Linked DNA regions of Homo sapiens: region 2 is linked to region 1. Evidence: promoter capture Hi-C in human tissues and cell types (Jung and others, 2019). All regions are on one chromosome and are shown on one strand. The core of a region is centred on a gene start or on the middle of the fragment in contact, and the rest is flanking DNA. Distances in the headings are between cores, read along the strand shown. Region 1 holds the start of FBXO11 (F-box protein 11). Region 2 holds the start of MCFD2 (multiple coagulation factor deficiency 2, ER cargo receptor complex subunit).

The links. Contacts are between HindIII fragments. The study calls those that stand out against the background at their distance.
Region 2: the fragment with the promoter of MCFD2 here is called in contact with the fragment with the promoter of FBXO11 in region 1 in 1 of the 25 tissues and cell types used here (hippocampus).

What each region holds. Positions count from the first base shown.
Region 1 is chr2:47,905,248-47,910,183 of GRCh38, forward strand. FBXO11 (F-box protein 11) reads right to left here and starts at 1,251. Exons shown (of 23, transcript NM_001190274.2): 1 at 242-1,251. The coding sequence starts at 473. It overlaps LOC100506235 (a long non-coding RNA gene), which reads left to right and starts at 303. Exons shown (of 2, transcript NR_187636.1): 1 at 303-552; 2 at 2,071-2,920. RefSeq lists silencers at 24-73, 84-203, 564-753, 1,244-1,343 and an enhancer at 1,413-2,197. The HindIII fragment of the contact is 7,202 bases long and covers 1-4,936 here.
Region 2 is chr2:46,913,392-46,918,327 of GRCh38, forward strand. It overlaps MCFD2 (multiple coagulation factor deficiency 2, ER cargo receptor complex subunit), which reads right to left and starts at 2,415. Exons shown (of 4, transcript NM_139279.6): 1 at 2,332-2,415. It also overlaps a transcript of TTC7A not described here. RefSeq lists a silencer at 2,402-2,481 and an enhancer at 2,485-3,459. The HindIII fragment of the contact is 16,990 bases long and covers 1-4,936 here.

The sequences.
Region 1 (4,936 bases), core at 1-2,500:
AAACCAAACAAAGCGCGGCCTGAGCGAGAGCCCAGGCGAGAAGGGAAGCCGCGGCTTTTCCTGCCGGCCGGGCCCGGCCCGGGCTGACACTGCGGCACCGGGGGACCCGCCTCCGCTCAGCTTGGGTCTCCCACCCCCAGGGCGCGCAGGCCGCCCCCGCCCGCCCGCCCGCCCGCCCGCCCCGGCCTCCCTTCCCGCGGTGCCCGGGAAGGCGGGCGGTTGGGAGGTAGCGCGGCCTTACCCCGCTCGCCGACGTTGTTCCGCTCCTGAGGCAGCGGCGGAGGCGGCGGTGGCGGCGGCGGAGGCTGCTGCTGCTGCTGCTGCTGCGGCGGCGGCGGAGGCTGCTGCTGGGGCGGCTGCTGCTGGGGCGGCTGCGGCGGCGGCTGCTGCGGGGGCTGCTGCTGCTGTTGCTGCACCGGGCGCGGCCGCGACACTCGCCTGGGTCTCCGGTTGGCGGCTCGGACGGAGTTCATTTGCCGGGCTGAGGTGGCGGCGTTGGCGGAGGGACACACACACGCACACGCACAGCGAGCTTCGGGGCAGGAGAAAGGGGTGGGGAGAGTGGGAGAGGGGGGAGGAAGGAGAGGGGGCGAGGGGAAGGGGAGACGCTGAGGGCGGAGGGGGCGAGCGGGACCCCGAGTCCGGAGAAAGGCCCGGGTAGACAGACGGAGACCGAGCGAGGCCGGCCGGGAGGGCCTGACGCACGGGGAAGGCCGAAGCCGCCGGGCGGGGCGGCCGCGAGGGACGAAGGCAGAAAGACGGGCAGACCGAGAGAAAGAAAGAAAGGGCGTCCGCCGCTTGGGGATCCCGAGGCGAAGCGCGGCGGCGGCGGCGGCGGCGGCTGAAGAGACAGATCCCGGTCCCGCCGACTCGCGAGCGGCGTCTCCGGCAGCGGGGGGAGTGGGCGGGCGGGTGAGGAAGGGAGAAAAAGAGAGGGAGAGAAGGGAGGGAGGGAGCAGGGGGCGCCCGGCTCTTTTTTTTCCCTCTTCCTCCCCCCCACACCCCCTGAAAGAGATTTCTGTGAGGAATTTTTCTCTCTTTCTTCGGTCTCTTCTCTCTCCTCCCCCCCTTCTCTCCTCGGCGAAGGGGAAATGAGTGTGAAGGGAGGAGATAGGGGGAAAAAGAGGCGTCGTCCTTCCTCCTCCTTAAAGGAACCTTTCCTCCTCCTCCTCGTCAGCCCTGTCGCCGCTGCTTCTGCTGCTGCTCCGTGGCAGGAGGAGCCATTGACACCGCCGGAGCCTCCACTCGCCCAGTCGGTCCCTCCCCGCCGCGGGGCTGGCCGGGGGCGCGGGGGAGGGCCGCGGGGCGGCGGGGGGAGGGGTGGGTGGGCGGGGAAAGGAGGGGCGGGGATTCCGTCCAGGCGGCCAATCTAAGGCGCCCGTACAACCTTCCGGCCAATGGGGCCTCCGCTCTTATCGCGAAGTCCCTTCAACGCCCTGTTTCCTCTCTCGGGTTTCCTCCCTCCCCCGCCTAGGAGGGGGAAAGAGGAAAGGGGGAGTGTGGCGGGGCGGGTGATAATGGGGAGGTATCAGGGCAAATAATAGAGCAGGGGGTGGGCGAAGAGAGCGCCAGTGCGTAGCGACGATTCTGGGAGAGGAGGTGCTCGGAGGAAAGGGCGGGGGTTGCTGATGTAATGGGGAGAAGTGATTAATCCTTCGGTTCGCCGTTTCAGCTTCCCCCCTACCCCAACCTTCACCCGATTTTTTTGAGCTGAAAAAAAAGTGGAACGAGGGAGCCAATCTTTGGTAACTCGGGTTTTCTGTGGTAGGTGGGTTCAAAATCTGAGCTGTAGGGAGCGCTAGAGATTTCGTGCCCTTTAGCCAAGCTGAGGGTATTTGCAAACCCTGAAGATTTCCGTCTCCGAGCTTTGGGCTTGGTAAGCGAAGTTTGGAGTCGGTGCCTAATCGTATATCATCTAAACCTTGAAAAGGCTTTGACCTTTGGCCAATTTGATTTGTTCTTTGAAGAAGTGTATACAATGTGTGGGAAAATAATATGTGAGAGGAGAGAAGTAAATGTGTTGATGTTGTGATTGTTTATGTGATTTAATTTTTAATTTTTTTTTTTTAGGTCCCACAAACTGCAAGGAAAAGAAAAACCCTCAACAGGAATTACCTTTATACCTGATGCCCCCAACATAATCTCTCTCCAAGGGAAACGTGTTTTTATTGCCTTGCGGCTGAAAATGTATTCTCGATTCTCCCCCTTCTCTCTTTTGTTGTGCATTTTTTGGATGTGGTAAAACTGGCAGTTTATCTGATTATCTGGTTTTCAGAACTTTGGGCGATGTCTCTGAGTGTCATCAGTTGCTCTCTAGGTTTGACATAGATAATTAAGCAACTACAAAGCGTGATAAAGCTTTTGAGAGGGAGGAAAATGTATTTTGGAAGGAGGGAGAGACGCAAAGAGGCGAGCCTGTGTGTTGAGTCCCAGACTTGGTGTGTGACTACAGGCAAAGTACTTCACCTTTCTAGATGTCAGCCCCGCCCCCCTCACCTCCCAAGTTTAAATAAGAACTTATTTTAGACTACATGATCCTGTTTTCAATTTTTAAGAGTTCTGTGATTTTGAGATGATCTCTCTTTAGTCCAGAAAAATAGAGAAACGTAGGTCTATGTTTGTTTCTCAAAAAAATATTTGAGGAGGACAGCTGTTACAAAACAGCTGGAGAACTCCAAATTTTTATGGTGGTTAGCTAGGTGCAAATGGGTACAATTTTAGGTTTGTTCAAATAAACATAGGGGAAAAGTAAAAGTACAGGAAAATTACGTTATACATATAAGTGTGTCCATCATTTCTGATTTTTCTAAAAATTTACTTTTTTATTTGACAAGTACTTTTTGGCTCCTTCCGTGTATGCATTAATATGTATATAAGGTGTTATGGGAAATACTAATAAAAGGAAAATATTGGGCATAAAGAGTTTGTATTTTGGTGTGGCAGAGTGGAAGTTTTACTTACATTAATTCAGATGTAAAGAAAATGTAGCTTGTTTATTTTCTGTAATTTTAACTTCAAGTCCCCACATCATCTCAATTTTTTAAAAAACATAACTGCTTTCACCTTTTATTTCCCCAACTCTCCTTCTAATATATTAATGGGAGGGGCGGGGTTTAGGGTTGTTATATGTGGTATAAGGGGTATCTTTTACATACCCTAGATTTCTAAGTTTATTGCAACAATTCTCTGACATATGGCAGTAAAATGCCTTGTTTTAGCAAAATTAGTATATTATGACAATTTCCTGATAGATGGTAGTAAAGTGTCTTGAGAAAGGAAGCACCTTTTTCAAATTCACAGAGTAACTGGTAGGGTGGTAGCATCCCTGAGGAATAGGGAGGTTTACAAGGGCATCTAAGCCACTAATGCCAGTCCTTATGTTGTCTTCTGGCGTGGAGTGGCTAGTATTGTCTGATGGCAGCCACTGTCGTTTATCATTTATTACTCATAAAACTGGTCATTTCTGTACTTTTGAGGCTGATTTCTTTTGCTGAAATCCATACATGAGCCATTTGCCCCATACACTATAACCTCTTTGTACTGACCCCGAGTCTCCACAGGTCCCTTGATCCTCATGGTTCTCACTGAGACACATGGGTACTTCTGGATTCCCCGAATACCACGTGTAGGCCTTGATGAGCCAGGAGCCTTGCTTTGGGCTTACTAGTTGTTGAGCCACTATCCAACAATGTTGCATTTTTCTCCTTATGTCATATTGAACATGCTGGCAGGCTGAAAGTAGAACTCCTAGACGTCTTAGTGTTTCACAGACATGTCCAGGGACGCAAACCACTATCTCCAACTTTCTTGGATTTCCCTATGTCTCTGTGCATATGTCAACTACATACCCTCAATTCTAGTTTCCACCCTGAGAGGGGATGGAAAGTAAGCACACTGAGTCTGATTAACCTCTTCCTTGTACCCTTTTCTTCTTTCCATCATGCCCCAGGGTTTTTAAGGAATGGATTTTTCTCCTTCCCATTTGTCAGGAACTTTCCTTCTGTACCGTATCCTCTTCATTTTTGAGATTTGGCATTTCTTCTGCTCCCTTTCTTGGAGCCGTGATAGCTGATGAAGTGCTCAAGAGAGAACCCAGTTTAACAATAATGGAACACCTATTGGGAGATATTAAAAAATATTATCCTATCCCTACATTACTGGTTTCTACATATGTTTAGTTTATTTCAGGGATTAAATGTTGAAGTCATCTTTGTGTAAAAGTGTTCAAACTCAATTGTGGAACTTAAGAGTTGTCAGGACGGACCTTGGAGATCATTAAATCTCATTTCTGTATTCAACAGACTAGGAAACTAAACTCCAAAGAAGGGAGGTGACAAAACTATAACTATTTGGTAGCAAAGCCACTGTCTGCCAATCCAGGGCCCTTTCCATTCAGAAGCATTGTAGACAGTATTTTGAGTTCTGGTGAGAACCCAAAATATCCTGGAAGGTTTTATCCATAGGCAGATCCACCTATATTAGTAAATAATTCTGTCAATTAGCTGTCATAAAAGTTATATATGTTAGAAAACAGGAGAAAAATTTAAAAGGATTTCTTTTAGGGGTGGGAGCCACCTAGAATTATTTCAGTAATACTTAGCATAATTTCAGAGGACTGAATTCCCTCAGGGTTTGCTCTCTCTTCAAGAACATTTGTGTTTGTTTTTCTCAGCTAATTACTGGTGCTTAAAAGGTTAGTGTACTTAAAATTATTTGTTTATAAAACCTATCACAATAGCAGTGTGGAAAAAATAAGCTCTTTAATCATTTTAATACCTGGCAGGTGATATTTACTGTGATTCTTAAATTATAATTTTACCATTTCAAAGATTCAGCTTCCCTTTCCTCTGTCATTCTATCATCTAGTCCCAAGCCGTCAGCACTTAGTTACATAAGACACCTCAAAGCTGCTCACTCCTTTTATGTCATTTAAGAA
Region 2 (4,936 bases), core at 1,165-3,664, 990 kb before region 1:
AAGAGAGAGAGAGAGAGGAAGAAAGGAAAGAAGGCAGGCGAGGGAGGGAAAGATAGAAAACAGGGAATCTAACTGCCACCTAACAAATTAAACTGCTGACAGTCAAGAGAAAGCATAAGCAACTCCCTCTACCCAAATAACAGGTTGCATCATCCATGCTCTAACTACTTAGCTCAAGGCCATGGGCTAACAGCCTGAAGATAAGCCCCAGCTCACTGGCCTTCTTTAGGAAATTATAAAGGCCAGGCTGAAGAAAAACCCAACGGAGGAGAAATTTCTGCAAAGGGACTTCAGGGCACAACCCATACCTTGAGACAGCCCTCACAAGGCGCAGCCTCAGTCCTGGGAGGGCAGTGCTGGACCATCAGGAGCAGTGCGCCTCCCAGTGCCTTGGCTGTCACAGTGCTCCCCTCCTGCTCTGCCAGCCTCTTCCTGTACCACAGCCTCCGCTCCTACTGGTTCCATCTGTCCATCTCCAACTTCCTTCCAGGACAGGTTCAAATGTCACCTCAGGATTCTTCCAGCCAAGACCAATTGCTCTCTCATCCGACCTCAGTCTGTAGCCTCTCACACTCATTTGACCTGAACATACGATCACAGGTTGTTCTCCTTTTCCATTTTTCTCTTTTCCTCCCTCTCTGAGAGTCAGGACCCTCTCTCCTCTGGCTCTCATTTACCTTACTGATCTCTGCTGAGCTGACCTGGCTCATCGCTGAATCAGGGAAGTGAGTCTTGGCACCTAGGTGTATTGTTCCCTATCCCACAGCGGATCTAGCCTAAGCTGGAACTTCCTTTGGAGGCTTCCAGTGGTTTGACCTGGCCCAACCCTTTCTTCCTGGTGTGTCATCAGTCCTATCAGCACTAAGTTTGGGGCCAGCCTTCCTGCCAGCAGCTAGTAGCAGCTTCTCCCTCAAGGGGCCCTTGGTTAAGAATTCAAACCCAAAGCAGCCAAACTCACCAACATCCAGACATCCTGTACCCACAGCCAATGCCAAAGAAAAACTGACCAGTACTTTGTCACTTACCCCTGTCATGGTCCTGGAATGAAGGCAAGAAAATAACCAACTTCCTAAGCTAAAGAAACCTCTACACGGACTGAGGGTTGAGAATTGGTTCTGAAAAAGCAGGCATTTAATATTAATAACTTGATCTATTTGTTCATCTAGGGAGCCCAAGGAGCACCCATGCTGCATTTATACATTTAATGACCGTACTAACAGCACAAGGTACTGAAGATAGTACTATGACCTCGACAAACTCCTCTCACACAGATTACAACCTGGTAGAAAAGAGAGACCGGCAGGCAGACACCCATGGGGTACCACGAAATCCCCAACTGACACCTGAAATAACACATAAAGGATAAGAAGGATTATTTCAACCAAAGGACAGTGCCTCAGACATAGCGAACATACTGAAGGAACATGTAAGCCCAGAAGGAACTTGTTCTGATCTAAGAACCAAAAAAGATTCAGTATGGTTGAAGACACAGTACAGTCGAGACAAATGAATCTAAAGTTAAAGGAAGACAGGTCATGAAGGGCTTTGCAAGCCCCGTTCAAGAGCTTGGAAGAGCAATGAGAATCCACCAAAGGGTGATAAGGGAATGGGGGGACGCTTCTGGTCACATGATCAGATTTCTGTTTTAAGACCATGGCTGTAGCCTCTCTGTATAGAACAAACTACAGAGGATGAAGAAGAGATGCAGGGATCATCAGGAAGACACCGAGGTAGTCCAGAGAAGAAAAGGTGGCCTGAACTAGGTAGGGCAGGGGGATGGGACTGGAGAATGAACGTATCCAAGACAACTTTGCAAGGGATTCGATGTGGGTGGGTAAAGGAGTGAAGCAAGTGAGAATGATGCCCAATTCTGGCTTGGGCACCCGGGTGGATGGCCATGCCCAGAGAGGGAATACAACAGGAGATCAGCTTCCCCCGCCGGGCCCGACAGGACCTGTGGTCTCCCCGAGAGAGGGAACAAGGAGCAGAGGGAGAGTAAGGCTTCCGGCCCGCTGCTTTTGGGCCGGGCCAGGAGCAGTGTCCACCCGACACAGCTGGTCCCACAGGCCGATCCTCGGGCCCCTAGGGACCAGGGAAGGGGGCGGAGATCTGCCCAGTCGGCCCCGTCTGGCTCCAGAGCCCCCGGTGGGGCACAGGCTTCCGCCCCGGGAGACAGGCCGTGCTCCTAGCCGGTTAAGCGTCCCGAGACGGCCTGGGGGCCCAGCCCGCGCCCCCAGACTACTCCTGCCTCTCATCTTGAGCCCAAGCCTCCAGCCCACAGGAGAGGCGCCGGGATCCCGCCCGCTGCGGAGAGTGCGCTAGTTCACTCACCCTTACGGTCTCCGAAGCAGACGCGAAGCCCTCCAACGTGAGCCTCACCAGCCCCCGTCCCCAAAACGCTCTTCCTCGGCTTCGCCCCGCCCCCCCCCCCCCCCCGACCTGCCCTGCGCACGCGCGCTCCCTGCCGCCCGCCCATTGGCGCCGCCGGGCCCCTCCCGCTGGCGGCGGCGGGCTGTGAGGACGGCTCGCGTGAGTCCACGTGTAATCGGCCCGGGCCCAGCACTGGCGGGACTGACGCAGTTCTTCTACCTGCTTTCCCAAGGGCGACACTCGGCTCCACTCCAGTTGGGCCGCTGGACGCCCTAGGGGCCCGGCAGTTGCTAGGCAACGCCGGAAGCCCTCAGGAACGTAGTTCCACGGGCGACGTAGGATGGCGGATCCGGATGGGGCGGACCCCAAAGCTGGCTCCCAACTCCGCTCACCCCCTCCTATACAGGGCTCTTGGTTCAGGTCTCTTGGTTCGTCCTGCTGCAAGTTGGGAAGAAAGATAATAGGAATGCTAATTCCTTCTTGATGAAACGACCACAACACGCTGGAGCCGGCCTTGGACCCTACGTTTCAAGATTGGCCTGCTTCCAGCGTCTGCCAGCTCCACTGCACAAGCTGCGGCAGCCGCTGTCCCCGTTCGCTTCCACGGGAGTCCCAGCAAGACTATGCGACCCAGTTCAAATACCATCTTCCATGTACCGTTCGTGAAATCAGCAGCTTTTGACATTCAAGAGAGGACAGATTACTTAAAAACAGACTCATGAACAAATAGGGAAACGAATACATCATCCCTGTATCGAATTCATCCCTGTATAATCCTGCCCTTACACCTGTGCTCCTATACAAGATTAACATTCAGTAAGTATCCATTGACCTGATGGATAAATGAGTGTAGGACGGTCGTTTTGTTTTTTTGTTTTGTTTTGTTTTGTTTTGAGACGGAGTCTCGCTCTGTCCCAGGCTGGAGTGCAGTGGTGGGATCTCGGCTCACTGCAACCTCCGCCTCCCAGGTTCAAGCTCTTCTCCTACCTCAGCCTCCCGAGTAGCTGGGATTACAGGCGCGTGCCACCTTGCCCGGCTAATTTTTGTATTTTTAGTAGAGACGGGGTTTCACCGTGTTGGCCAGGCTGGTCTCTAACTGCTGACCTCTTGATCCTCCCGCCTCAGCCTCCCAAAGTGCTGGGATTACAGGCGTGAGCCACCACTCCCGGCAGGACGGTCGTTTTTTTTAAAGCCCTTCTCCCATTTCTGTCCATAAAGGTACATAATCGTTTTTCAAATGAGCCTGGGTCCGGACAGGAAAGACAAAGAAAGTGGCTAAGTAGTTAGATGCCTTGAAAGTTGCCTAACGCCACTGCCATTGACGGTCTCATTCCTTTTCCCACCTTCATCTGAGATTGAAATCTGCCACCCCATCCCAGAGAAAAATCCCATAATCCCTAATTTTTTTTTCTTTTTTTAAAGAAAAGAGTCTCCATGGTGCCCAGCTCGTCTCGAACTCCTGGGTTCAAGCAATCCTCCCACCACCTCCGCCTCCCAAAGTGCTGGGATTACAGGGGTGAGCCACCGCGCCGGGACAAAGAATCCCTAAGTTTTGAGGAAACCCTATTAATTCAAGACCCATTCTTCTTTCCTTACTCTGAACTTTGGATTAGTTTGATCTAGTTCCTCCTTCTACCCTGCATCTGCCATTCATCCATCTCTTCATCCATTCATCCACCCCTCCCTTTGTTCATTTATTCATTCAATAACATTTCTTGAATATCTTCTATGTACTAGGCGCTCTACTAGGAGCTACTAGAGATACAAATAAGACAAATGAAGTGTCAAGAAGCTGGTGTCTGGTAGATGGATAAAGTGTCCTCATTCTAGCCAGTGCTTTCATTTTTTTCCTATGGATGTTATCCTGTGTTATGTCTCTCTTGAATCTACAGTCACTCCCTCTCTACCAGATAATTCCCATCAACATATAAACTTGCTGTATTTTCTCCCCCACCATACCACTGAAACTGCAATCTCCATGCAAATCTAGTGGTCTCTTTGATCTCTTGTTTTTATTTTACTTGCCCTCTCAACACTGTTTTATCAAAGCCAACCACTCTCACTTAGAAACACTTTCTTCTCTTGTTTTCTGACACCACACACTCTGGGTCCTTCTGCTACCTCACTCATTATCCTTTCTTGGGCTTCTTAATTGGCTTCTCAATCTATAATTATCAAAGTGTCCAGGGTTCTGTTCTGAGTCACCTTCTCTATCCACCCTCCCTATGTGAGTTTACCTAGTCCTGTGCTTTAGATACCATTTATAAATAGATGACTCCAAAATATGTCTCTCTGACAATGACCTCTCTGTGTAATTCCTGGCTCCTGTAAATAACTGCCTACTTGATGTCTCCATATGAATGTCAGACTGGCATCTCAAACTTAATGTGTCCCCCCAAAATCTTGATTTTCACCCCCAAACCTGCACCTCTCTCAGTCTTGTGCATTTTAGTAAATGTCACTGGTACTCATTCTGTTGTTCAAGCTAAAATTCTACGAGCTGTTTTTGATTTATCTCATCCCTTTACCTTTAAATCCTTCAGCAAAGCCTGTTGATGCTATCAAA